Regions from separate parts of the Homo sapiens genome. Here region 2 is linked to region 1. The links are contacts of gene promoters, found by promoter capture Hi-C in human tissues and cell types (Jung and others, 2019). All regions are on one chromosome and are shown on one strand. The core of a region is centred on a gene start or on the middle of the fragment in contact, and the rest is flanking DNA. Distances in the headings are between cores, read along the strand shown.

Region 1 (6,040 bases), core at 29-2,528:
TATATACCTAAAGTACTTTTTTAAAAACATTAAAAGAATGTTCACAAAACTAAGACCATTTCCTCTGGGGCGGGCATATAGAATTAACAAAAAAGGGAAGTTTCATTTCTTACTGTGGTTTTTGGTACTTTTCTAAACATGGTACTTAAAAATGTAGGCTGAATATGTTCCACAATTTTATAAGTTATAAATACATATCTTCAAGAAGGGCAGTTTTATAAAATTTGCTACTGACGAGTACACGCATTGGCACAAAATAATTTGTTAAACTGGAAAGAAATTTGAAATGAAACAAATGAAAATGTCAAATCACAGTTCAGTAAAGAATCCTTTTTTAATTTCCAAAGGTGAAGTATTCTTAAGGTGCTAAAGGAGAGATAACTTACCATAGGCAACGGCTTTCCCTGATGGCAGTTGATACCACCAATGAAGATCATGTTGGGCATCACGGGTTTGGGATAGTCCAAAACAAAGTCCGTTCGCAACAACCAAATTGATGTGTGGCTGTAGAGATCATACTCCGTAACAGGTGTTTGGAGAATTTCAGAGGCTATTTCTAGGGCATTTTTGAAAAAACGGTGGCATAATAAATGTTCCTCCAAGTGCATGATGTGGTTCCGTACTCTCTCCTTGAAAGTCATGGCATCTGAGAACCCTAAGAGAATTCTGGGGACATAGGAAAGAGGAGCAGGGCACTGTGCACCTTCTTCAAGATAGTGGCAAAGTATTCCCCTGGCGAAGACCACGGAGGGGAGGGAGAAATATTTGGCAACAATTAAGCCACAGTTATCAAAAGGATCGAGAAACACTGCATCAAAAGAACTCTCCTTTAAGTATTCTACTAATTTTTTGTCTTTAAACAAACTCCTGCAATTTGAAAAAAATAAGTCAAAAATGTCATTGTATGAACCCATTAATAGAGAATATATACTTCGTACTTGTGCTTTCCATTGAGCATGGGCAAAAGCCTTGAACTCCCGGTCCAGATCCTCCAGGGTATATGAAGTTGAATAAGTCTTCACTGTGCAATTCAGTGATCTTCCCAGTTGCCAACTCACCTCTGGCATGACTACAACCACCTCATGCCCCCTGAGAATGAGTTTCTCCACCACCGACCTCATGGTGAACCAGTGGCTCCCATCCATGGGCACTACCAGTAGCTTCCCTGCCTCGGCAAAGCCACAGGTCAGCAGCAGACACACACATAGAGGAAGGGGGCTGGTCCACCCTGTGCAAGCCATCAGAGAACTGCAGCTGAGAGCAAGCAGCTGGGAATCTAAGCTCCTATGATACAGTAGGTGGGAGAAATACCAGCACAAAACCTGACCCCAATAGAGGGCGTGTTTTTATCCTTTCATAAAAAAAAAATCAGTCACTGACAATGATTTACCCAAAAGAACAAGAATATATGAGTAGCTTTTGCTGAGATATCTATTTGTATGTTTTCCAGACAACAGTAGCTTATGGTCTTTGCCTTGGGGGCAGAACATGCCCTGTGCTGCAATGTTAAGTTTAGAAGCAGAATTATTAACCAATGCTTTTGGACCTTGAAGGTTCAGAAAGATAAAGTAAAAGTAAATTTGATTAAAGCTAATTTTTTTTGGAATTTGTCCCAGAGCAAAATTTAGATTTTACCTTTAGGCAACCAAATACTCTCTGTCCAGAGAAGATGGCAACTCATGCTCTAAGCAAAGAAAACAAGGCCCTTAGCACTGACCTCCTAACCTCCTAAATTGGGGCTCGCCTGTGTCTCTGCAATGCATACATATTGCTGCTTCTCTTCTTCCATTTCCAAACCCTGAGAAGCCTCTAAAATGCTGAAATGAGACTGACAACCCTGCTTCCATGGACCATACCAGGGACTTGATGGAAAGTAACCGTCTCCTATTTTAAATGGCTTTCCTAAGATACATCGCACGCAGTGGGAAGTTGCCCGCCCAATCCTTGCGAGAGCACTCTGCTGAGCTGCCTCTCAGTGACCGCTCAACTTGCACATTCTAAACACGCCATCACTCCAGTGCCCTCCTTCAGGAAAATATGTACTTGTCTCTCTCAGTCTGCTGAGCACTCCTTGAGGTCAGAGGTGATGTCAACTTTGTGTTTTCACCCTCCTTTCACAGTACCCATGCTATGCCTTTGACATAGTTTGTATGTTTGTATGTTTGGGTTTACAAATAGGACTGCCCCCATCCATAAGCCTGCTAGCCTCCAAGCCTTAAAGGGAAAAGATCAATACCCACTGCCAGTTTTTTTGTTGTACAAGAAGGCCTCGGCAAGAACACTTTTTCTGGATTGGTTCTATCATTACTTTGTCCCTGAAGTCAGGTAATATCTTGCCAGTAAGAGACGGTCTTTCAAAGTTCTTTTGATTTTTGGACAATGCCCCTAGCCACCCAGAACCCATGAGTTCAACACTGAAGGTGTCAAAGTGGTCTACTTGCCTGCAAACCCAACATCTCTAATTCAGCAACAAAAGGTGGGGGATATGGTCTTTCAAGATATGAATCTGTGAGAAATTCAAGAATGAATAGACACCACACCAGAGGAATCAACAGAAGATGACTTGATGGAGATGAGTGCTTTTGAATCAGTACCAGATACTAAAGAAGACATAGAAGAAGCCATGCCAGAAAACAAATTCCTATTAAACAGTTTGGCAAAGGCTTCCAATTATTAAGACTACTTTTGACTTATTTTACAACACAAACCCTTCCATGAATGGGCACTGAAACTAAAGCAAATGGGGAAGAAGGACTAGTACTGTAAAAAAGCATTTTCAAAGAATTGCAAAGGCAAAAAAGTCAAATAATAATTATGATGTAATTCTGTAAAGTTACACCAAGTGTACCTGTCTCTCCTCCTTCTTCCTCCACTTCTTCCCCCTCTGCCACCCCTGAAACAGCAAAACCAACCCACCTCTTCCTCCTTCTCAGCCTACTCAATGGAGGACAATCAAGAGGAAGACCTTTATCATGATCCACTTCCACTTAATGAATACTTAATTTTCTCTTCCTTAAGATTTTCTTAATAACATTTTCTTTTCTCTAGCTGACTTCATTATGATAATACAGTATATAACACATATAACATGCCAAATATGTGTTAAGCAACTGTTTCTGTTATTGGTAAGGCTTCTAGTGCACAGTAGGCTATTAATAGTTAAATTTTTAGGGAGTCAAAAATTCTATGTGTGCTGGGCGTGGTGGCTCACACCTGTAGTCCCAGCACTTTGGGAGGTCAAGGTGGGCGTATCACGGGAGGCCAGGAGTTGGAGACCAGCCTGGCCAACATGGTGAAACCCTATCTCTACTAAAAATGCAAAAAATTAGCTGCAGGTGGTGGTGCATGCCTGTAATCCCAGCTACTCTGGAGGCTGAGGCAGGAGAATCACTTGAACCCGGGAAGCGGAGGTTGCATTGAGCTGAGATCACGCCATTATACTCCAGCCCGGGCAAAACAGCACGACTCTGTCTCAAAAATAAAAAACAAAAAGAAACCCACAAAACCTTTCTATGCTAATTTTTTACTGCTCGGGGGTTGGTACCTCAATCCTCACATTCTTCAAGGGTCAAATGTACTAGCAATGAACAATTGAAAATTGGAATGAAAACAGCACCTAAATAGCATCAAAAATAAAAAATACTAACAGATAAATCTGACAAAAGATGTGAAAGATTGTACACTGAAAACAACAAAACATTGGTGAGAGACCTGAATAAATAGATATGTTCATGAATCAGAAAACTCAAAATTGTTAAAATGTTATTTTTCCTTAGTTGATCTATAAATTTAATACAACCCCAATCTAAATTCCAGCAGGCTATCTTTTTGTACAAATTGGCAAACTGATTCTAAAATTCATAGGGAAATGTAAAAGACCTACAATAGCAAAAATAACTTTTAAAAAATAGAAAAAAAAATGGAGAGCAATTATTACCTAATTTCAAGACTTATTACAAATCTATAGTAATCAAATATTTCACAAAAAGATCATTGGAACAGAATAGAATACCCAGAAATAGAAGTATGAGCAACCAAGTTTTTTCAAAGGTGCACAGGCAATTCTGTGGGGAAAAGATGACTCTTCAACAGTTGGGTATCCATTCGCAAGAAAGCGGGAAAACACATTACCTTGTGGTCTTCCTCCTAAAAACCTATAACCCCTGTGTTACCATAATCAAAACATCAGACAAACTCAAACTGAGGAACATTCTACAGAATACCTCACCAGAATTGCTCAAAACTGACAAAGTAATCAAAACCAAGGAAACTCTGAAAAACTGTCACAGGCTAGAGGAGATGAAACAAATGTGATGAGTAAATGTCATGCGGTATCCTGGATGGGATCCCAGAAAAGAACAAGGACATTAGGTAAAAATTAATGACATCTAAAGAAAACATAGACTTTGGTTCAACATAATGTGTCAGTGTTGATTAATGAGTTGTGATAAATGTACATAGGTGCTAGAGAAGATGTGGAGAAATAGGAACGCTTTTACCCTGTTGGTGGGAGTGTAAACTAGTTCAACCATTGTGGAAGACAGTGTGGCAATTCCTCAAGGATCTAGAACTAGAAATACCATTTGACCCAGCCATCCCATTACTGGGTATGTATCCAAAGGATTATAAATCATGGTACTATAAAGACACATGCACACGTATGTTTATTGGGGCACTATTCACAAAAGCAAAGACTTGGAAGCAACCCAAATGTCCATCAGTGGTAGACTGGATTAAGAAAATGTGGCACATATACACCATGGAATACTATGCAGCCATAAAAAAGGATGAGTTCATGTCCTTTGTAGCGACATGGATGAAGCTGGAAACCATCATTCTGAGCAAACTATCGCAAGGACGGAAAACCAAACATTGCATGTTCTCACTCATAGGTGGGATTTAAACAATGAGAACACTTGGACACAGGGCGGGGAATATCGCACACCGGGGCCTGTCGAGAGGTGGGGGTATGGGGGAGGGATAGCATTAGGAAAAATACCTAATGTAAATGACGAGTTAATGGGTGCAGCAAACCAACACGGCACATGTATACATATGTAACAAACCTGCATGTTGTGCACATGTACCCTAGAACTTAAAGTATAATAAAAAAAAATGTGCACAGTAAACTAACATTTAGCAATAGGGGAAACTGGCAAAAGATATATGGGAATTCTTAGTGCAATTTTTTGCACCCTTGCTTTAAATCTAAATTTATTGTAAAATAAAAAGTTTACAGTCCCACCAACAGTGTAAAAGTGTTCCTATTTCTCCACATCCTCTACAGCACCTGTTGTTTCCTGACTTTTTAATGATTGCCATTCTAACTTGTGTGAGATGGTATCTCATTGTGGTTTTGATTTGCATTTCTCAGATGGCCAGTGATGATGAGCATTTTTTCATGTGTCTTTTGGCTGCATAAATGTCTTCTTTTGAGAAGGGTCTGTTCATATCCTTCACCCACTTTTTGATGGGGCTGTTTGATTTTTTCTTGTAAATTTGTCTGAGTTCATTGTAGATTCTGGATATTAGCCCTTTGTCAGATGAGTAGATTCCAAAATTTTCTCCCATTCTGTAAGTTGCCTGTTCACTCTGATGGTAGTTTCTTTTGCTGTGCAGAAGCTCTTTAGTTTAATGAGATCCCATTTGTCAATTTTGGCTTTTGTTGCCACTGCTTTTGGTGTTTTAGACATGAAGTCCTTGCCCATGCCTATGTCCTGAATGGTAATGCCTAGGTTTTCTTCTAGGGTTTTTATGGTTTAAGGTCTAACATTTAAGTCTTTAATCCATCTTGAATTAATTTTTGTATAAGGTGTAAGGAAGGGATCCAGTTTCAGCTTTCTACAAATGGCTAGCCAGTTTTCCCAGCACCATTTATTAAATAGGGAATCCTTTCCCCATTTCTTGTTTTTGTGGGACTGTAAACTAGTTCAACCATTGTGGAAGTCAGTGTGGCTATTCCTCAGGGATCTAGAACTAGAAATACTATTTGACCCAGCCATCCCATTACTGGGTATATACCCAAAGGATTGTAAAACAT
Region 2 (6,696 bases), core at 2,314-4,813, 170 kb after region 1:
TTTATCTTGTAGCTTTCAGAATTCTCTTTTTGTCTTTAACTTTTGAGAGTCTTATTATAAAGTGCCCAAAGAGGATCTTTTTGTGTTGAATCTAATTGGGGAACCTGTGAGCTTTCTGGATCTGGATGTCCATATCTCTCCTGGACTTGGGAATTTTTCACCTATTATTTAATTAAATAGATACGCTGTGTCTTTTGTCATTTATTCTCCCCCTGGCACTTCTACAATGAGAAAACTTGTTCATTTAATGGTGTCTTGTTGGTCCTGTAGGCTTTCTTCATTCTTTTTAAATTGTTAATTCTTTTTATTCTTCTGACTGGGTTATTTCAAAAGACCTGTCTTCAAGTTCAGAAATTCTTTCTCTGATGAATTTCTGATTCAGATTATGAATGAATTTTTCTGATTTTGTTGAATTTTGGATTGTCTGTATTCTCTTGTTTATGAGTTTCCTTAAGATCATTGTTTTGAATTTCTCTTCAGGCATTTCATAAATATACTTTTCTTCGGGGTTTGTTACTGGAGACTTACTGTGTTCCTTTCAGAATATCATCTTTCCTTGGCCCTTCATATTTCTTGTCTTCTTATGTTGATATCTTCACATTTACTTGAACACTTACTTTTTCCAATTTTATGGAGTAGCTATTGTAGGGAGGAGCTTTTTCCTATAGATGGATTCTAGGGTGTCTGTTGGAAATGATGTGTTGTTGGCTTTGGTTCTTGGTGGGCTCAGTAGCATGATCCCTATGCCAGTTCTTCAGCTGTAATCCTCATTAATGATGTGTGCAGTTGCCTCAATTTCCTAGGTTACGGGTGTTTGTGACAGAGGTGACATGGTTTGGTGGAGGAAAGGATGCTGGTTTGTGCTGCTACCAAGCACAACCTGAGCATAGCTGTGTGTTGGTCTCTCTGGGGAGGGGGATACTGCCACACTTGCTATTGGGCTGGGTGCAAACATGTGTGGGTCAGGCAGCTGTGCAGCGCTCTCTCTGGGGAGGCAGGGCCACTGCCAGATTGCAAAATCCAAAACTTTTTGAGCACTTTTTGACCCTTTGACATGACACTCAAAGAAAATATTCATTGGAGCATTTCATATTTAGATTTTTGGATTGAGGTTACTTAGCTGGTAAGTATAATGCAGATATTCCAAAAATTTTTTTTAAATCCAACACTTCCAGTCCTAAGTATTTCAAATAAGGGATACTCAACCTGTAATTGGGACTGGGTGATGGGTATTTGAGGATCATTTTACTATTTTCTGCAGGTATTTTCCCAGTTTTTTACTGGCCTTTTTAACTTTACATTTTTTAATTTCAAGGAAAGAAACCACAAAACTTTTCAAAAGTGATGTATCTTCCTTTCTGTACTCCGTTGAACCCCTTGCAGGCAGACTTGTTCCTTGCTATGTCACTGAAACAGCTTATGTCAGGGTCATTAGTGGCCTCCACATTACTATGTCCAGTGAGCAGTTTTTACTCTTCATGTTACTTGCTCTATCACCAACATTCGATGTACCTGATGACTCTATTCTTTGAAACACTTTTGTCACTGGGCTCCAGAAGACCACAACTCCAGGTTTTCCTTATATCCCACTGGCCTACCCTTCTCAGTTTGCTGTCTCCTCCTCTTCTCTATCTTTGAGCATTCTGCTGCCCAGTTCTTAGATTGGACCTCGGCCCAGAACATCCAGCTGCCACTTGGTTGTCTAACAATCATCCAAACCTAGAACATATTCACAGTAAAGCTCTTCTTATTCTCCCTGAAACATAACCCGCTCATATTTTTCTCTTTTTCAGTTAATGGCAACTCCATTTTTTACTTGCTTAGGCTGAAAGCCTTGAAGTCATCCTTGATTCTTCTCTTTCTTACTTCACATTCAGTTTCACAAGGACATCTTTTGGTTCTACCATCAAAATGCATCTAGGATCTGACCACATCTCATTCTGTTCATTACTACCACCCTGTCAAACCTGTCATCTTTTTCATCTGAAATGAATTTCATCCATCAGCTTCCTAACTGATCTCCTTCCTTATAGCCTTGCACTTCCCAGGGTCTGTTCTTATAAAAAGTTGAGTGATCCTTTAAAATGTAAGAGAGATTAGTCACTCCTATACTCACAACCCTCCTGTGGTTTCCCATTTTACCCAGAGTAAGAGGTGAAGTCTTGAATGTCTGCACAAGGGCCTATGTGATCTGGTTCTCTGGTATCATTTTTGTTATATTTTCAAACCTCCAACCATTTCCCCCTCTTACTCACTGTGCTTCAGCCACACTGGCCTTCTTGCTGTTTCTGAAATAAGGCTTTTATGCTCTCTATTTCCCCTTCCTAAAACACAATTAAGTTGATTGCTCAATTGTTTGATTGTTTTTCTTAAATACAATGTTTAAGGCTTTAAGTTTTCTTAGAATATAAGCTTGCTTTCATTCATCCACCATATTTTAGTATACTGTGTTTTTATCATCATTTTCTAAACAATCTATAATTATATTTTAAAGCCTTATTTTTTGTCATACAAGTAATCATGGATTTCTTCTCACTTTTTAAACTTCTAGGGGATTAACAATCCCCCTTGGTTACCACTCTATTCTAGTCCTTTCTCTAGAAGTCACTGTTGCAATCAGATAACATCATCTTATCCACATCAGCAGAGTATGTGTCCCTCCAGACCTTTGCTGTGCCTATACCAGCATGTGTCTATATACATACATATAGAAATGAAGAGTGTGCTTTGCTTCTGTGATTTCTTTTAAATTATAAATGGGATCACTTTGCATGTATTATACTAGAACTTTGTTTCACTTAAAATATTTTAAAGATCTTTTAAGACCAATATATATGAATCTGTTTTTTTCTTTGAACTGCTTTAAGACATTTCCTACTTTTTAAAAAATCTCCCATTAATGTGTATTTTGGTGGGGTTTTTTTTGCCATTTTTCTTTTATTACAAACAGTACAGCAGTGACTTCCTTATTTTTGCTCTCTTTTGCTCTAGTGTAATAGAAATCAAATTGTATTTGCTCGCTTGTCCAAGATTTAATTAGCAATGTTTTTCCCTCAAGAAATTGTTTTAATTACTATTTTTGTTTTATTTAAACTTTTGTTAATATTGTCTCATTTTTGCATTATGCCATGACATCACAGCTTGCACAATTCTTGTGAGTTTTTATATTTAGGGAAAACGGGGAAATTCAGACAGTCATAAAGAGAAGAGAGAAGGGAGAACTTTCCCCAAATGCTATCAATCTCGCCTTTTATAGGATTCAGAGTTTAATGTCTATGAAATTAACTTGATTAATCATATCTGGCCAAAGACACACAGTTAATCCTTACAGGAAGAAAGTCATGGTTCAAACCTGGGAGTTGGTGGATGAAACTTTGAACTAAGTCCTGCTTGCAAACACCAGAAACTGCTTTTTCCTCTTCCTGAATTGGCCCCATCTAGCCTTTAGAAAGGAAAGCTGACTCGTGTATTATCTTCTTAACTATGTCTATCCTTGCCTATTCAAGAATCATTAAATATAGTCAGACTTAAATAGGCCTAGGGTCCAAAAAGGGTGTTTGTCCTAGAACTGTAACTCAGAAACAGAAAACTAACATTGGACATTGTTTTTCTTTACAGTGTTTAAAGTTAATGCTGAAGAAATCTGGCCTACAAGGTAAGTTACTTACCATGATGACATATTACTTAAAAGCCTAATAAAAATTTTTTTGACTTTTTTTTTCTCCAGGGTTGTAGGAAAAAAAAATTTATAGGGTGTGGAGAAATAAAAAGTAGTTTACACTTCCATATGTACATAATGAATTCTCCTGGTTCTTGTTGGCATGCTGAAAGAAAACTAATGGTATAGCTCTGAGTAGAGAATTTAGATAGGATCCAGCAAAGGTACAAAGTAGGAATGTTTTACAGTGTTGGTGGGAATGTAAATTAGGTCAACCATTGTGGAAGACAGTGTGGCAACTCCTCAAAGACCTAGAACCAGAAATGCCATTGATCCAGCAATCCCATTACTGGGTATATACCCAAAGGAATATAAAGTATTCTATTATAAAGATACATGCACATGTATGTTCATTGCAGCACTGTTCACAATAGCAAAGACATGGAATCAACCCAAATGCCCATCAGTAATAGACTGGATAAAGAAAATATGGTACATATATACCATGGAATACTGTGCAGCCATAGAAAGGAATGAGATCATGTCCTTTGCAGGGTCATGGATGGAGCTGGAAGTCATTATCCTCAGCAAACTAATGCAGGAACAGAAAACTAGACACCACATGTTCTTACTTATAAGTGGGAGCCAAACAATGAGAACACATGGACACAGGGAGGGGAATAACACACATTGGGGCCTGTTGGTGTATGGGGGGGTGGGAGTGGGGGAGGGAGAGCATCAGGAAAAATTGCTAATACATTCTGGGCTTAATACCTAGGTGATGAGTTGATAGGTGCAGCAAACCACCATGGCACACGTTTACCTGTGTAACAGGCCTGCACATCCTGCACATGTACCCCAGAACTTAAAATAAAAAGAACGCTAAGATGTATACCACCTGGAGCCACGCAGGTCTTCCACTGATTCCTTTCAATTTTATTGATTCCAAATTTCAGTGCATTCTGTTTCATGTCAGTATTTTTGTGGTATAGATGACGGAATGTAAAATGAATGAAAAAAATAAATCTAAGATAACTGAAGCAACTTTCCAGGTGAGATCATGTCAGTGAGCTTGATGAGACCTCATTCTGATTTCAGTAGCACACTTTGCTGTTCTCAGACTTCATTAACATGGAGGCCCATAGCTTTATTATCTGGAAAGGAAGTTAAGGTGCTCTGGGTGCAAGACATTCTTCTAGAAGTTACACGCAACGTCTCACCTAACTTTGAATTTTTTTTATCCCAATTTTGACTCCTTTATAGGAGATGCCTGGCATTTACGAAAAATGGATTGGTGCTATGAAGCTGGAGAGCCTTTATGTGAAGAAGTAAGATGATTTCTATACATTGTACTTTCGTATGATTACATTTATGTCATATTTTCGTACAAGGTACCCATTCCACTCATGAGAAAGCTTTAATTACTTTCTATAGGATACAAATATCTATGAATGGGTCTATTTTACTTTTTTCTTACTATAGTTTTTTGATAAAGGGGAAGTCACAGTGCAGTGGGAACATTTCTGACATCTGTGGTAAACCCCCTTGCCATGAGAGTATGCCTCTAGGAGGAGCAGTTCATGAGAAGGCAGAGAACTTCACAGAACAAATGACATTTGAGCTCATGAAGGAATTTTATAGATACACTCTGAAGTTTTGGCCCCTGAATGTTTTGATCTCAGAGTTTCTCTGTAAGGTAATGGTGGCAGAATTTCTTACTAACCATTCCTAAGTTAGGCTTTGGTCCAAACTCTCGATCCAGCCAAACTGTTAGGGTAGCCTTAGGAATAATTTTATCACAGGAGAGTTGGAATCTAGTTGGTCATCTTGTTGGTCCAAATAGCATGATATTTCCCAGTTCAAATGCGTAGCCTTAGAAGAAGACCCAAAATAAAGCTCTGTGGGGAGTCTGAGGGAGCTGTGGTCAGCCGCCCTTTCCCCAGTCTTCACCTGCCTACTTCCTGTTCTTTAAGAAGGGGCACTGAATGCCAGCAGAAGGTTGATTTAGGGAGGTATGCTGGGGCCTTGCCCTGGAATGCTCTTTGCTGTTTAGCAGTCAGTAAGTCAATAGCAAGAGGCCCCTCTTGGGGCCTGGGCAGGAGTTTGACTGCCTGGAGTAAGAAGTGGACCTCAAAGCATCTTTAGGACATAAAATTTGGATGTCAGAAGAATATATTTACCCAAATAGCTTCAGCATTTTCTTCTCTATTAATTCCCAAATTGGCATCAAAGAATTCAGCCAGAAGCCAACTCATTACCCTTGGAACTGGCTTCTCGTTCCAGCCTTGCCAGGTATCTTTCCCATCCTAATCTTCAAGAGTAAAATATCCTCCTTATCTTTCATTCTTCATGTTTCCTCTCAGCCTCCAAACTGTCAGCTTTTCCACCCCTTCCCTGACCATTCCCATGCTTGGCTCCAGGTCCAAGCCTTCGTATGCCTCTCACCTAAATTATTATGGCTTTCCTGGGCCCAGGCGTTCCCTGCTTCAATGTCATGCATATTGCAGCCAGATTGATCTGGAAAATCTCCTCAGAAATCTTGTGTGGCTCCTTTATTTCTATTCCATGTCCTGTGGTTAGTGCCTGCCCTTCCAGTCCGGTGTGACCTCCTGGTACTTTCCACTCGAATCAGTGTGGCTTTAGCGCTTTACCAAAACAAGCCATATTTACTATCAACCTTAACTTAGCCCTTGTCCTTTTTTTCGTGAGAAATTCCTTCTGTTATTTTCTCTAGCTTTCCAAATCCAACCCATCTTTTTAGGATTAATTAAAATTTCATCTTCTGTAAATCAGTTTCTCATTTCTCATCTCATCTAACTCCCTTGCCTCAGTTCTTCTGTCAGACTTACAGCTTATGCCCCACAATTTAACAAATAATGCTGTACTGATTTTATAGTCTTAGCTTATTTCCTGTGTCTTCCATATCTGCTTTATTATTCATTTAATTTTTGAAAAGATAATAGAGGCATGGGGTTTTAAAAAGATCAATGATCTGCTCCTTTCAGAAGTCATAAGTGACAAAAAAGCATTTTTGTCTT

What was found. Contacts are between HindIII fragments. The study calls those that stand out against the background at their distance.
Region 2: a contact is called between a fragment that was not itself captured here and the fragment with the promoter of UGT1A9 in region 1, in 3 of the 25 tissues and cell types used here (H1 embryonic stem cells, mesendoderm cells and thymus).

What each region holds. Positions count from the first base shown.
Region 1 is chr2:233,667,136-233,673,175 of GRCh38, reverse strand. UGT1A9 (UDP glucuronosyltransferase family 1 member A9) reads right to left here and starts at 1,278. Exons shown (of 5, transcript NM_021027.3): 1 at 387-1,278. The coding sequence starts at 1,241. The region is part of intron 1 of UGT1A8 (UDP glucuronosyltransferase family 1 member A8); the gene reads right to left. All of the region lies in intron 1 of UGT1A10 (UDP glucuronosyltransferase family 1 member A10), which reads right to left. It also overlaps UGT1A. The HindIII fragment of the contact is 24,288 bases long and covers 1-6,040 here.
Region 2 is chr2:233,496,838-233,503,533 of GRCh38, reverse strand. It overlaps USP40 (ubiquitin specific peptidase 40), which reads left to right. Exons shown (of 32, transcript NM_001365479.2): 22 at 3,619-3,655; 23 at 4,922-4,986. Among named protein-coding and RNA genes, the nearest start is that of USP40, 67 kb to the left of the region's middle. The HindIII fragment of the contact is 5,362 bases long and covers 883-6,244 here.